Regions from separate parts of the Homo sapiens genome. Here region 2 is linked to region 1. Evidence: promoter capture Hi-C in 16 types of primary human blood cells and fetal thymus (Javierre and others, 2016). All regions are on one chromosome and are shown on one strand. The core of a region is centred on a gene start or on the middle of the fragment in contact, and the rest is flanking DNA. Distances in the headings are between cores, read along the strand shown.

Evidence for each region. Contacts are between HindIII fragments. The CHiCAGO score rates a contact against its expected background, and 5 or more counts as called.
Region 2: a contact is called between a fragment that was not itself captured here and the fragment with the promoter of TNKS in region 1, in 1 of 17 cell types (megakaryocytes). The highest score is 5.5, in megakaryocytes.

Annotation. Positions count from the first base shown.
Region 1 is chr8:9,551,783-9,558,248 of GRCh38, forward strand. TNKS (tankyrase) reads left to right here and starts at 4,130. Exons shown (of 27, transcript NM_003747.3): 1 at 4,130-4,830. The coding sequence starts at 4,158. RefSeq lists enhancers at 598-757, 3,813-4,474, 4,475-5,134 and a silencer at 4,233-4,392. The HindIII fragment of the contact is 11,121 bases long and covers 1,488-6,466 here.
Region 2 is chr8:9,663,406-9,669,816 of GRCh38, forward strand. All of the region lies in intron 3 of TNKS (tankyrase), which reads left to right. Among named protein-coding and RNA genes, the nearest start is that of MIR597, 75 kb to the right of the region's middle. The HindIII fragment of the contact is 188 bases long and covers 2,725-2,912 here.

The sequences.
Region 1 (6,466 bases), core at 2,880-5,379:
ATGTGGAATCCACACCTTTAACCACCTCTCTGCCCGGAACTAACTCTCTGCCTGGAACTAACACTTCAAATTAAACCGACTACCCATGAGCGTACAGACCATAGCCAGAAAAAATCCAAGTTATCTCAGTGCAGGCTACAGATGTCTTTGGAGCAGCAGCCAGAAGACCCTGGTATGTAAGAGCTATCTTATAAAGCTACTAAAACTTTAATGGGAGAGTTGCTAAGAAACTGATACAGAGGATATCTTTAAATTACTGTAATTTTGCTGTCTTGTAATAAGTTGTTTTACCTGTTTTTTTTTTGGTAAAGCTTTTTCTGATACAATGTTGTTAGTACGATTGCAGCTGTTGGCATCATTGCCCATCTGTGGTTTTGTAAAAAAATATTCACCTGGGTTTCTGGATGGAACTTCAACTAAGAGAACGCAACACTTTTATAGAGAAATCTGGGCCCTTGGCACCATAGACATTTCTGACATAAAAATAACTTATTATGTTTCGGTAAGACCAAAAATGAGGAAATGACATGCCTCAGCCAAACCACAGCTCTGGCTTGTGCTCGTGGATTTGCGGAGGAGGCATTGCAGAGGGGATCGAAGAATAACTAGACTTAGTAGAAATACTACCAGAATACCAAATACGGTGGGAGATCAATGGGAAGTATATGGATGGAATGACACACCAATTCCAGTTGAAATATGGAACTTGTGCAAGTTCATGATTGTGTAATTTTCAGAGTGTCCATGCGAACCCCATAGGGTAAGAAAGCAAACATCAGAACACAGCCCAAAAGATCGGTGTCCTTTGAGTTGGTGGCTTTTCTTTTGTGTCAACAGTATAGCCTAAGAGAGTGCTATGTGCTCCCATTTTTGTAGTACTTGGGTATACTTTGTGTGTGTGTGTGTGTGTGTGTGTGTGTGTAGACAGGGTCTCACTTTGTTGCCCAGGCTGATCTTTGATCTTGATTTTTTGGGATCAAGCATTCTCCTGCCTCAGCTTCCCAAAATGCTGGGATTATAAGTGTGAGCCACTGTACTCGGCCAGGATATTGTTTTTGTGAAAACGCTTATGAAAATAAGATACTACACACCTGTGATCAACAATAGTTTAGAGACAGAGTTTATAAAGAATCCTGAATTATCAGATAAGGAAAGAATTAAACCTAATGTTTCTTTGCTTTAGATTCCCATTCTGTGTAAAACGATGGATATTTATTCCCAGCCCCTATCTTTGTCACAAAGGAAGTTGCGAGGGGAAAGCTATCAATAGTGGCTGTGAGTTCATGTTAACACTTTATGCATGCCATGTAAGAGAACGGATCTAACATTCAAAGAGTGCTTAAAAAACACCTAGGCTTTTAATCCTCATGACAGTGCTAAACTAAGGTCAACATTTTAGGCTGAGAGAGCTGAAGCATACCTATCAAGATTAGCCAACTAGTAATCATCAGAGATGTGACTTTCAAGCCCAGGTTTGTTTGACCCCAAGCTTTGCTCTTTCCACTATGATATAGTGCATTCCTCCTGGAATTGTGTTTAGCCACAGAAGATTAGGTAATAGCATGTGTCCTTTCATGTTTGGAGCTCAACATTAGTCGGTATAAACCCAAACTTCATAAATACTTAATGTTAAGTACTTTTCCTACTTTCTGCTCGAGGGGAAGAAAGCAATTTCCAGTTGATTGAATGCATTTCCAGACATGGTTTTCCAGTCCAGTTTCAGGCAATTTAGTTTTTTGTTTTTTGTTTGTTTGTTTGTTTTGCTGAGACAATGTTGCTCTGCCACCCAGGCTGGAGTGCAGTGGCACGATTTCGGCTCACTGCAACCTCTGCCTCCTGGGTTCAAGCCATCCTCCTGCCTCAGCCTCCGCAGTAGCTGGGATTACAGGCGCGCACCACCACGCCCAACTAATTTTTGTATTTTTAGTAGAGATGGGGTTTCCTCATGTTGGCCAGGCTGGTCTGGAACTCCTGACCTCGTGATCTGCCCACCTTGGCCTCCCAAAGTGCTGGGATTACAGGTGTGAGCTACTGGGCCTGGCCGGCAATTTAGTTTTTAAAAATCTCTGTCCAGCAGAGACTTCCTTATTTTATTGTTATTATTATTTTTTGTACTGATAGACACAACAGATGCATTTTGAATAAGTCTGAACATCACTACTTTCTATGAGTAACTGACCACTGGGAGACCAGATGAGATATTTCTTATGCCTCCCATTCCAGGAGGCCATTATTTAGGGGACACATGGTGTGTTATGGATATCTAACATATCATGTTGGATCACTCCCACTTCTCAATGGTTCTCTGCTGTACATCAAGAAGTTAAGATTAAAAAACAGAAGCATGAAGAAGAATGTTGTGGACTGATTTTAGTTGCACTGATGTGAGTTTTCCTATCCAGCTACACTTTTTGTCCGGTGTCTACTGCGAACAATGGCACATTTCATCACACAGCTGGATAATGTTAAGAATTATAATCTGTAACCCCAGATTAGATGAAAATAAATGCCACTCGTAATACTAATTATGTTCCTGACCTTATTGTATTTACTTACTAACCCCAAATAAACTCATCTATTTACTTAAATGGGAATATTAACATCACATAAATCATATTTAACAATGAACACATGAAACAATTTATCACCTAGTTTAATATTCTGCTTGACTCATCTAAATCTTGTTTCTCTTACAGAATTTCCATCTGTGTCCACTCTATTGGAATAATGCTGTTTCTGTATACTTCTACAATGCCTGCTTTACTATTGAACAGTAGGTATGAAATGGAGTCCTCAATGGGATTATCTCATTCATGGATACATCTTTTGATAGTAGAAAAACAAAAGTATACATAGGTTGGGGGAAAGACAGAAAAAGCAGTTGCTGAAAAATAGCACCTGATGGTGAGTAATGGACAGCAATCAGGTTTTTGTTATGTTTTCTTGTTGTTTTTGTGACAGGGTCTCCGCCCTCTGTCACCCAGGCTGGAGTGCAGTGGTGTGACCTCGGCTCACAGCAACCTCTGCCTCCCGGGCTCAAGTGATCCTCCCAACAGACTCCTGAGTAGCTGGGACTACACGCATGTGCCACTTTGCCCAGCTAATCTGTGTATTTTTTGTAGAGATGGAGCTTCGCCGTGATGGCCAGGCTGATCTTGAACTCCCGGGCTCAAGTGGCCCGCCGGCCTCGGCCTCCCAAAGTGCTAGGATTACAGGCATGAGCCACCGTGACCAGCCTAGCAATCAGGTTTTTATCTGTTTCGGGTGTGGGAGAGGCTAAGCTAAGCCAGAATTCAAAAGAAAGGAATATATTCATAATTAGTTACACTTAGGGTGAAAAATAAAATTTCAGAGAGAGCAGAATAGGAAAAAAAAATCATAATTTTAATAATTCACACTTATTGCACTATTGTTATTTCAATTTTACAGAGAAAAACAGGCATAGAGTGATGAAATAGCAAGTACATATATAAACAACAAATGGCAGAGCTGGAACGCCAATCCTAGCAATCTGAACCAGCATTTAAAAACGAGGAATTAAAGCACATAGGGTGAGAAAAATTATAGGGAAGGGACAAGAGCTCAAGGGGACACCTGGAAAAGAAATACTATAATTTAAAAAATTACCAACGGGCTAATTATACTTGTGTTTTACTGGCAGAGCGCTTTGTCTGTTAGCTCTTTTAATCCCGCTAATAATTCTGTGAGGTTGGTACTATAAGTTCCATTTTTCAGACAAGGACGCTTAATAGATGATAACGGACACATTCCCTGCTTGCTCTGATCTGCATCTCAACAGCTGGCTCTGGAGCAAGCAAAGGGAGACTAAGGGAAACAGAGCGGAGCAGGGCAAAGAAAGCCGACTGAAAGTGAGAAATGCAGGAAATGTTTCCCATCTAGGCAGAAGCTGGTTCCAGCATTCAAATCTCTCCAGCCGGCCCGCCACCACGTCACAAAGCCCGCCTCTCAGTGACAAAGCCCCGCCCCGTTCCCTTGGCTGTTCTCTGAGCTCCCAATACTTCCCTCCTTCTCTTTGGCCCCTGCTACCCCGCCTAGCATCATTTCCTGTGCGCTGGATGCTGATTGGTCCGACAGTCGGAAGTGAGGGCGGGCGGTGGGGGCCGTTGCCGCAGTGACAGTGCTAGGGGAGTCCGAAGATGGCGGCGTCGCGTCGCTCTCAGCATCATCACCACCATCATCAACAACAGCTCCAGCCCGCCCCAGGGGCTTCAGCGCCGCCGCCGCCACCTCCTCCCCCACTCAGCCCTGGCCTGGCCCCGGGGACCACCCCAGCCTCTCCCACGGCCAGCGGCCTGGCCCCCTTCGCCTCCCCGCGGCACGGCCTAGCGCTGCCGGAGGGGGATGGCAGTCGGGATCCGCCCGACAGGCCCCGATCCCCGGACCCGGTTGACGGTACCAGCTGTTGCAGTACCACCAGCACAATCTGTACCGTCGCCGCCGCTCCCGTGGTCCCAGCGGTTTCTACTTCATCTGCCGCTGGGGTCGCTCCCAACCCAGCCGGCAGTGGCAGTAACAATTCACCGTCGTCCTCTTCTTCCCCGACTTCTTCCTCATCTTCCTCTCCATCCTCCCCTGGATCGAGCTTGGCGGAGAGCCCCGAGGCGGCCGGAGTTAGCAGCACAGCACCACTGGGGCCTGGGGCAGCAGGACCTGGGACAGGGGTCCCAGCAGTGAGCGGGGCCCTACGGGAACTGCTGGAGGCCTGTCGCAATGGGGACGTGTCCCGGGTAAAGAGGCTGGTGGACGCGGCAAACGTAAATGCAAAGGACATGGCCGGCCGGAAGTCTTCTCCCCTGCACTTCGCTGCAGGTCAGAGACTTTTGAATTGTTTATTAAGGGTTATGGGTTTGGGTGCAGGGTCCGGTTAGGACAAGAAAACAGGTTATTGTGATGGGACAAAGTGGGGGCGTGGTTATGGTTCTTCATCACCTCACCAGAAGACTGGAGGTTCCTTTCTTTTGGTGGTGCCTGGGTGATGGGGGCGTGGTTGGGGGGGATAAGTGAATCCAAGGAATTCTTCAGTGGTTGCACAGTACTCATTACAAAACTCACTGTAGTTGGTAGTCTCTGCATATGGATATATTTACACTTTAGTTTTTGGTGTGCAGGAATACAGTTAGATTTGGACAGCTTTAGAGTAGTTTTGTCGTTTGTGTGCTAGTTTATTTTGTTTTTACAAGGGTATGTCCTTTGAGGACAGTCCAGACCAAAAGAGGTTTAATACAACCCAACACATGTTTGAGGATCTATTGTAGCCTTAATAACCCAATGAAAGACATAAATGAAGTGTTTGAAAGTTTCCCTTCTTCTAAAGAAGTTTGCAGTCTAGACGGGGAGACCAAAATATGCCAATGTGAAACAACTGGAGAAGAATATTTGGATGCATTATATGATGATGGAAGAAATATAGGCTTTGATGTTGTGGCCACTATTATTTGTTGTCTAGCAGACCATTTACCTCGTGTCAGTTGCCTCAGTTTTCTCATGGGCAAAAATCATAAAATGATGTTGTGCGAGCATTTGGTGAGAAGTATCTGGCACAAAGTTCTCCCTCAAAAAGTGTGAATTTCTTAAGCTCTGGACCCCACACTTGTCTTTTTTTTTTTTTTTGCAAGTAGTTGATGATTTTCTCTCAAAGACACCTAATAATATGTTTATAAAATAAAGAGAACTGTAAAATAAAAACAAAGGACCATAATCTCACTGCCTGGATACCTATTGTTGATATTTTAAAAATGTAGGTAATAATGTTTTATACATTAGAAACATTATATTGGAAATACATATATTGTACGTTATACAATTCAAATAGGACAGAAAAATACAAAATGAAAGGCATCACACAGAAACATCAGAGATAACACACCAGAGATAACTTCTGTTAAGTTTCTCCTATATTTCTAATATATATATATATCACTTCTTCAGTTTGTTCTGTTAACAGTAAAACATGTGTTGACCCACTGTAGTATTTATTTTTACCACACTTGGGAGATATGATTAACCATTTTACAGATGACAAAAGTGAAGCATATATCGATCGCTTAAATAAGTCCAAATTCAGTCAGGAAATAGTGGAAATTGAGTTTGAATTCAGGCAGTTTGATTTTAGAGCTTGTGAAATCAAACTTAAACTGTCAGAACCCTGGATTAAGGTCACTTTTCATTTTTGTGAGTAATTGAAGTGTAGAGTTCCCAATTTTTGGGAGAAGTAGTAATGCGGAGGGGCTTATATGCAAGAGAGTAGCTTTCACATGTTTTTTATTGTAGCCCATACTTAGAAATACATTTTACATTGTCACATACGCAACTGAATCAAAAGTTTCTGGAAACAATACTTTCCCTTAATACATGTGTTGTCCTCTGATATTTTATATTTTATTCTGTTTCATTTTTAGCAAATGCTGCTTGTGATCCATTAATGGGTCGTGACCAGTGGTATGAG
Region 2 (6,411 bases), core at 1,569-4,068, 110 kb after region 1:
AAAGAAACCTCTTTTTTGTTTTACTGCTTATTTCACTTCTGGTCACCAAAATTTGCAAGTTTTTCCTACCATGAGCACTCTTCCAACAGCAGTTAGGTGTCCTATAATTTGATTCTGTTCTAACACTGTCTGCTTGGAATTAACGTCAGATCCAGTGAGTTAAAGGCTCAGTCCCAGAAGACTACACCCCACTTTAGAGGCTACTCGCTAGTAGTAGGTTGTCATCTATACTTCTTATCTGCTGGCTGTCAATTGGGGGTTCCCATGACCTCTTCATCAAGTTTAATTATTTGCTAGTGGTGCCCACAGAACTCAGGAAGATATGTTTACCAGTTTATTATAAAGGAATTACAAAGGCTGCAGATGAATGGCCAGATGAGGAGGTACATAGGGCAAGGTCAGTGGGCAGGGGCAAGGAGCTTCCATACTCCCTCCCAGTGCTCCACCTTCCTAGCACCTCCACACGTTCAGTAACCCAGAAACACTTTCAACCCTGTCCCTTGGGGTTTCTCTGGAGGCTTCACTGTGGCCAATTGATTATATCATTCCCTCCCTGGAGATCAGGCATGGGGCTGAAAGTTCCACCCATCCAGTCACATGATTGTTTCCTCTGGTACCAGCCCCTATCTGGAGACTATCCAGGAGCCCCCAGCCATCAGTCGTCTCATTATATCTTAGTCCATTTAATGTGTTGCTGTAAGGAATACCTCGAGGCTGGGTAATTTATAAAGAAAAGAGGTTTATTTGGCTCACAGTTTTGCAGGCTGTACAAGAAGCATGGTGCCAGCATCTATGTCTGGTGAGGGCTTCAGATTGCTTCCACTCCTGGCAGAAGGTGAGGGGGAGTCAGCATGTGCAAAGACGACATGGCAAGGGAGGAAGCAAAGTGATGGAGAGGGAGGTGCCAGGCTGTTTTTCACAACCAACTATTGAAGGAACTAATAGAGTGAGAACTCACTCACACTTCCTCCCCGTGCACCTTCCAACGCAAATTAAATTATTCATGAGGGATCCACCTCCATGACTCAGACACCTCTTACTAGGTCCCACCTCCAACATTGGGCATCCAATTTCAACATACATTTGGAAGGCACAAACATTCAAACTGTAGCACGTTAACATATAAAAATGTACTTATCACTTATCTGAGACACTCATCTGAAATTCCAAGAGATTTAGGGGCTATGTGCCAGGAAAGGAAGACCAAATACATATTTCTTATTATAAATCACTCACAGTACATATACAGGTAATGTACATAAAATTATGAACTGCATTTAGAGAACTGAAGATGGTTCTAATGAAGATCAGAAAATAAAAAACGCATGCATGTGTAATTTAAGTTCAATTTTATATAATTAACAAGTATACAACTGTTAATAAAAGTCACACGTTCATGACTCTAGAAGAGACCTTAAATTTAGAGGTTAGCTAATCTAACCTTTTACCCCATAAGGATTCCGTACTATATTACTACACGGCATTTCTATACCATATCCCTATGTGCTGTCTGCCATTAGTCCATTGTTGGGTAACTTAAATGGTTAGAAATACTTCTATGCATTAAGCCAAATATAGTAACTTCTTTTTGGAACTACATCGTATAAGGATGTTTTTCCTTTTGAGAGCCCTCTCTGAAATACTGACAATGCTAATCAAGACCTTTCCTATACTCACCACCTACTATCACTTCAAGCTTTTGTACTCTAGACTAAGTTTTCCTCCCCTCCTTTTTAAAATTCTGTTGACGTAAGTTTCCATTTGCTGTTTTGAAATTTGTTACATTGGTTTCCTTGAGCTTCCTGTCAAACTAGCTTCAAAATATTTTTACTGGGGCTAGTCTGGAGTCAGTTTTTAGTCTTTCTTCACTTACATATTTGAACAGTTGACTGTTTTTGAGGGGAGAAGGGCTCTAATAGCAGGACATTGCCTTTATCCTGATTAAATGTTCTTGTCAATCATGTGATGCTCTTCAGCAGTTGCCAGGGAGTCATCATTCTGAAAACCAGATTTACTTTTTCTGTTTTTTATTCGTATTTCCACTTCTTTTAAGTTAGCAGGAAGAAATGCTGAATTCACCAATGCCTTTGGTCCCTTGTCCAGGACTTCAGAGTCACTAGAAATGGTCTGTATTTCTTATGGTAAAGTTGTGCATCTCTACAAGATTCCATAAAAGGGATTAGTAGTGTGTTTGACCTGTTGTCTTAAGCATACTCTCAGTCATCTCTTGGCATATACATGTGAATGAGGTAGCCTCATAATAACCTTGTGCTGCCTTTTCAGGAGTCACTGTTAACCTCTACTGGTCTCTTTCTCTGGATACTGGAGCATGGTGCAAGGATTCTTCAACTCTCATGAATTCACTCTCGTGAATTCCCATTATTATTGCATGCACCTTTACAAGCCCTAGAGTAACTACTAAGAAAGGCCTCATGTTGCCTTATGAGTCTCTAAGCCTCCTCAGAGTCTACGCACCTCAAGAATATTTTTATTGGATCCTTTTCCCCTCCCTAACCTCATTCCTACCTCTCTTTTTACTACTCTTCTCTCTTCTTCCTCCCCTCCTCTTTTTTTCTCTCTGTCCTCCAAATAAATGTGCAAAGTCATGCTCTGAAACTGAAGTTCCTTGTACCTAGGAGAATCCTCATCTTACTCAGCGCAAATTTGCTCCTACTGTAGTAACAGCTTTTGCTGCTGACTGATTACAACCGTTTTACTGTTGTAAGCTTCCAGCTCATGATGGTTTTAGATGTGCACTGTCCAGCACAAAGCCACTCGTCACAGCTGGCTGCTGAACACGCTGCCACACGTTGAAATGGTAATATTGTGGATATAGTAGGGTAAATAAAACGTGCTATTAAAACTCATGTCTTTTTTAAACATTGCTACTGGAAGTTTACAATTACATAGGAAGCTTATATTTCTACTGGACAGCACTTTTCAAACATTCTAAACTAAAAGGAAATATATAAAGAGATTAATTTATGCAAAGGAAAAGAGAGAAATAAATTACGTATTAAAAAGTAAAATATGGCTGGGTGTGGTAGCTCACGCCTGTAATCCCCGCACTTTGGGAGGCCAAGGCTGGCAGATCACTTGAGGCCAGGAGTTCGAGACCAGCCTGGCCAACATGGTGAAACCCCGTCTCTACTAAAAATACAAAAATTAGCTGGCTGTGGTGGCTCACGCCTGTAGTCCCAGCTACTCGAGAGGATGAGGCACAAGAATTGCTTGAAACCCAGGAGGCAGAGTTTGCAGTGAGCCAAGATGGTTGCATTGCGCTCCAGCCTGGGCGACAGAGTGAGACTCTATCTAAAAAAAAAAAAAAAAGTAAAATACATAGCAATCTTGAACCGTTTTGAGTAAGTACAAATGTCCCTGCACATCTCAGTAGTCCAGAGAGCATTGCTATATTATTCCAAAGGCTGGTGGAGGTTCATAATAATTGGCCCTGAATTGTCAAGAAGAGTAAAATTATGTTTGGAGTGATCTGTTTTTCAGTGTATAGAGGTATGTAATATATTTCATAAAGAAATTCTATCAAGAAAAGAGAAATTAAAATGCTAAATTAGCAGTTATGTTAAAAACTTGGCTATCTGGAATGATTTAGTTCTTGAGTGTTCCGATTTTTATGGTAGCAGTATTCTAATAAGACAAAGTGATAATTTTTATATGAGGGTAGTTGATAAATTTATGGGAGGAACATAAGTCATTCAACAAATAGAAACGACAGAATACTCAAAAACACTTTCTTCAGAGATTCTTCTTAATATTTGTATTATTTTTATGTGAAGTATTTATATTGAAATAATTATTTCAGAAAGAACTCATTTTTGTTTAAACCAGTATGCCAATATGATCTCTTCATTTAAGAAACTGCTGTATATGTAGTAGCTGCAATCTCAGAACTCTCAGGATATATGAACAAAGCGTATTGTGATTTATAGGAACCAGGCCATTGTCTGTGAAAAGAAAATTACTTTCCTACAGCCCTTGCTCTTATCGGGATGCTTGGCCCCTGGATGCGTAAGCCTACTGAGGGCTGAAGTTTTGGGAGTCGCCTATTCAGGGATTGCCTGACCTCTGCATCTTATAACCATATCATCCTGAGGAATTGCAGACTGATGTGGAGGCATGTGACTGCTTTTTGAATGATGTCAGAACTGTCTTGTCTTTGTTGTGATTATTGTGTATGATTGCATTTTATCCTTCATAGTCTGTCATTGATTTACAAAACGTCTCAGAAAGATGTAGTGAGTGCAATTATGGTTTCCTCAAGAAGCACCAATTGTGATTTACTTCTTCAGCTGCACACACTTCAGTTATTTTTTTCTTATATTTTCCCAAAAGTATCACTAAATCTCTTACTGTGTTAGATTTCATTGACTTTAGTGAAGTCTGATTAATATCCTTTCTCATTTAAGCCCTTCTGGGTTTTTTTTTTTTTTTTTGAGTCTCATTCATTTACTAGTTCTCTTTGAATCACGTCATTTATTTTTTCATTTAACAAATATACAGGCACTGTTTACAATATGCCAAGCACAATACAGCACTGATACAGATAACAGAAATCTTGAATTGTTGGAGAAAGTGATGGAGTTTAGAGCTAGCATGCTAGCAGTGGCACCAAACCTGCAGCAACTTGTTCATTTAGTAGACTGCAGGGCCCAGCTGTTGCTGATGAAAGTAATCACCCGTGTGAACATTATCTGTCAGGTGTGTTGAGGAAAAATCATTCGGAATCATTTCTAAGAAATAACAGCGCCAAGCACTATATTCTTAAAGCTTTCGGAGATTTACCATTGGTATGTAAGGGCTGTTTGTATCAGTTTATGTCTGTGTAAATAAAAGATTTAGATCAGAGAAATGATGGTTCCTAACCTTTTTTGGGTCATGGACCACTTTAAGGAGCTAATAAAAGCACCTTTAGATCCACTCCTTAGGGAGAAAATACATTGCACATTTGAACATACACTCAAATTTTGCCTCTAGTTGTCAAGTATTTACAGAATTTTTGAATTCCATGAAATTACCAGAGGTTAAGAACTTCTGATGTACACATAATGGTTAGAAATATAATCTTAGAACAGGCTTGACAAGATAAACTAGTTTGATATCCTTATGATTAAGACTCAGAATAAGCAAATAACTTGCCTAAAATTTTAAAACTGTAGTGTCAAAGCTAGGACTGGAATCTGTGCCCTTTGACAGTGTTTTTAACTGAAATGGTGTGGAGTGATTTCATGAAGGAAGTTATGTGTAAGTTTGGCCATATGTTTGTGGCAAGATTTTAACAAGTGCAAATGATTGGAGCTTAGATCATTGTCAACATGAGCAAAGACATTCAGGAAAATGCAAGGTGTATTTGGGTAAAAGTGAGTGATGTAGAGTTGATAGTGTGTGTTGAGAAGGTAAGGTGGAATAGGGAACAGTGAATAATAAATTGAATAAATTTAGTCTATATTTTTAAAGGATTTTGACTATTCAGCTGTAGGGTTGAACACCATTTTGTAAGACAGGTATGGGGACTCATACATTTATACTATTTTGATTATTATTATTATTATTGAATAGGAGAATAAACTAATTAAAGCAGAAATTAATGTAACTGAATTAAGGGCTAGAGACAAGGGATTAAGGAGTAATTTAGGGATTAGCTACAGGACTGTTATAGGAGGTGGGTGAAAGAAAAAGTACATAAATAAATTGTAGCAATAAGAATGGAAAAAAGGGCCGGGCGCGGTGGCTCACGCCTGTAATCCCAGCACTTTGGGAGGCCGAGGCGGGTGGATCATGAGGTCAGGAGATCGAGACCATCCTGGCTAACAAGGTGAAACCCCGTCTCTACTAAAAATACAAAAAATTAGCCGGGCGCGGTGGCGGGCGCCTGTAGTCCCAGCTACTCGGGAGGCTGAGGCAGGAGAATGGCGTGAACCCGGGAAGCGGAGCTTGCAGTGAGCCGAGATTGCGCCACTGCAGTCCGCAGTCCGGCCTGCGCGACAGAGCGAGACTCCGCCTCAAAAAAAAAAAAAAAAAAAAGAATGGAAAAAAGAAAGTAGGGACAAGGCATTGTATGGATTATAATGTAGCAGAATCTGTATTTTAATGTGTTAGGTTAATGTGTAACTAGGGATATCATGTTACATATCTGTAAATGAGTGGTAAAAGTAAAAATATTTACATTTATATTTAGATTAATACTTTGTCCAATAATCTTTCTGAACATAGTTATAGCAGAAGTCACAATTGATTCAGCTTGGACTTAATGGATATATTACCACGGATTCAGACTTCACATATAGAGAAATGCTCATTAATTTGGAATAACCTAATTAAATAATGTAGTTCATTTAGTAATCTAGTGGCTAAAATTTAACAGTCTTTACTTCTTATATAGCCAGTTTCAAGAGG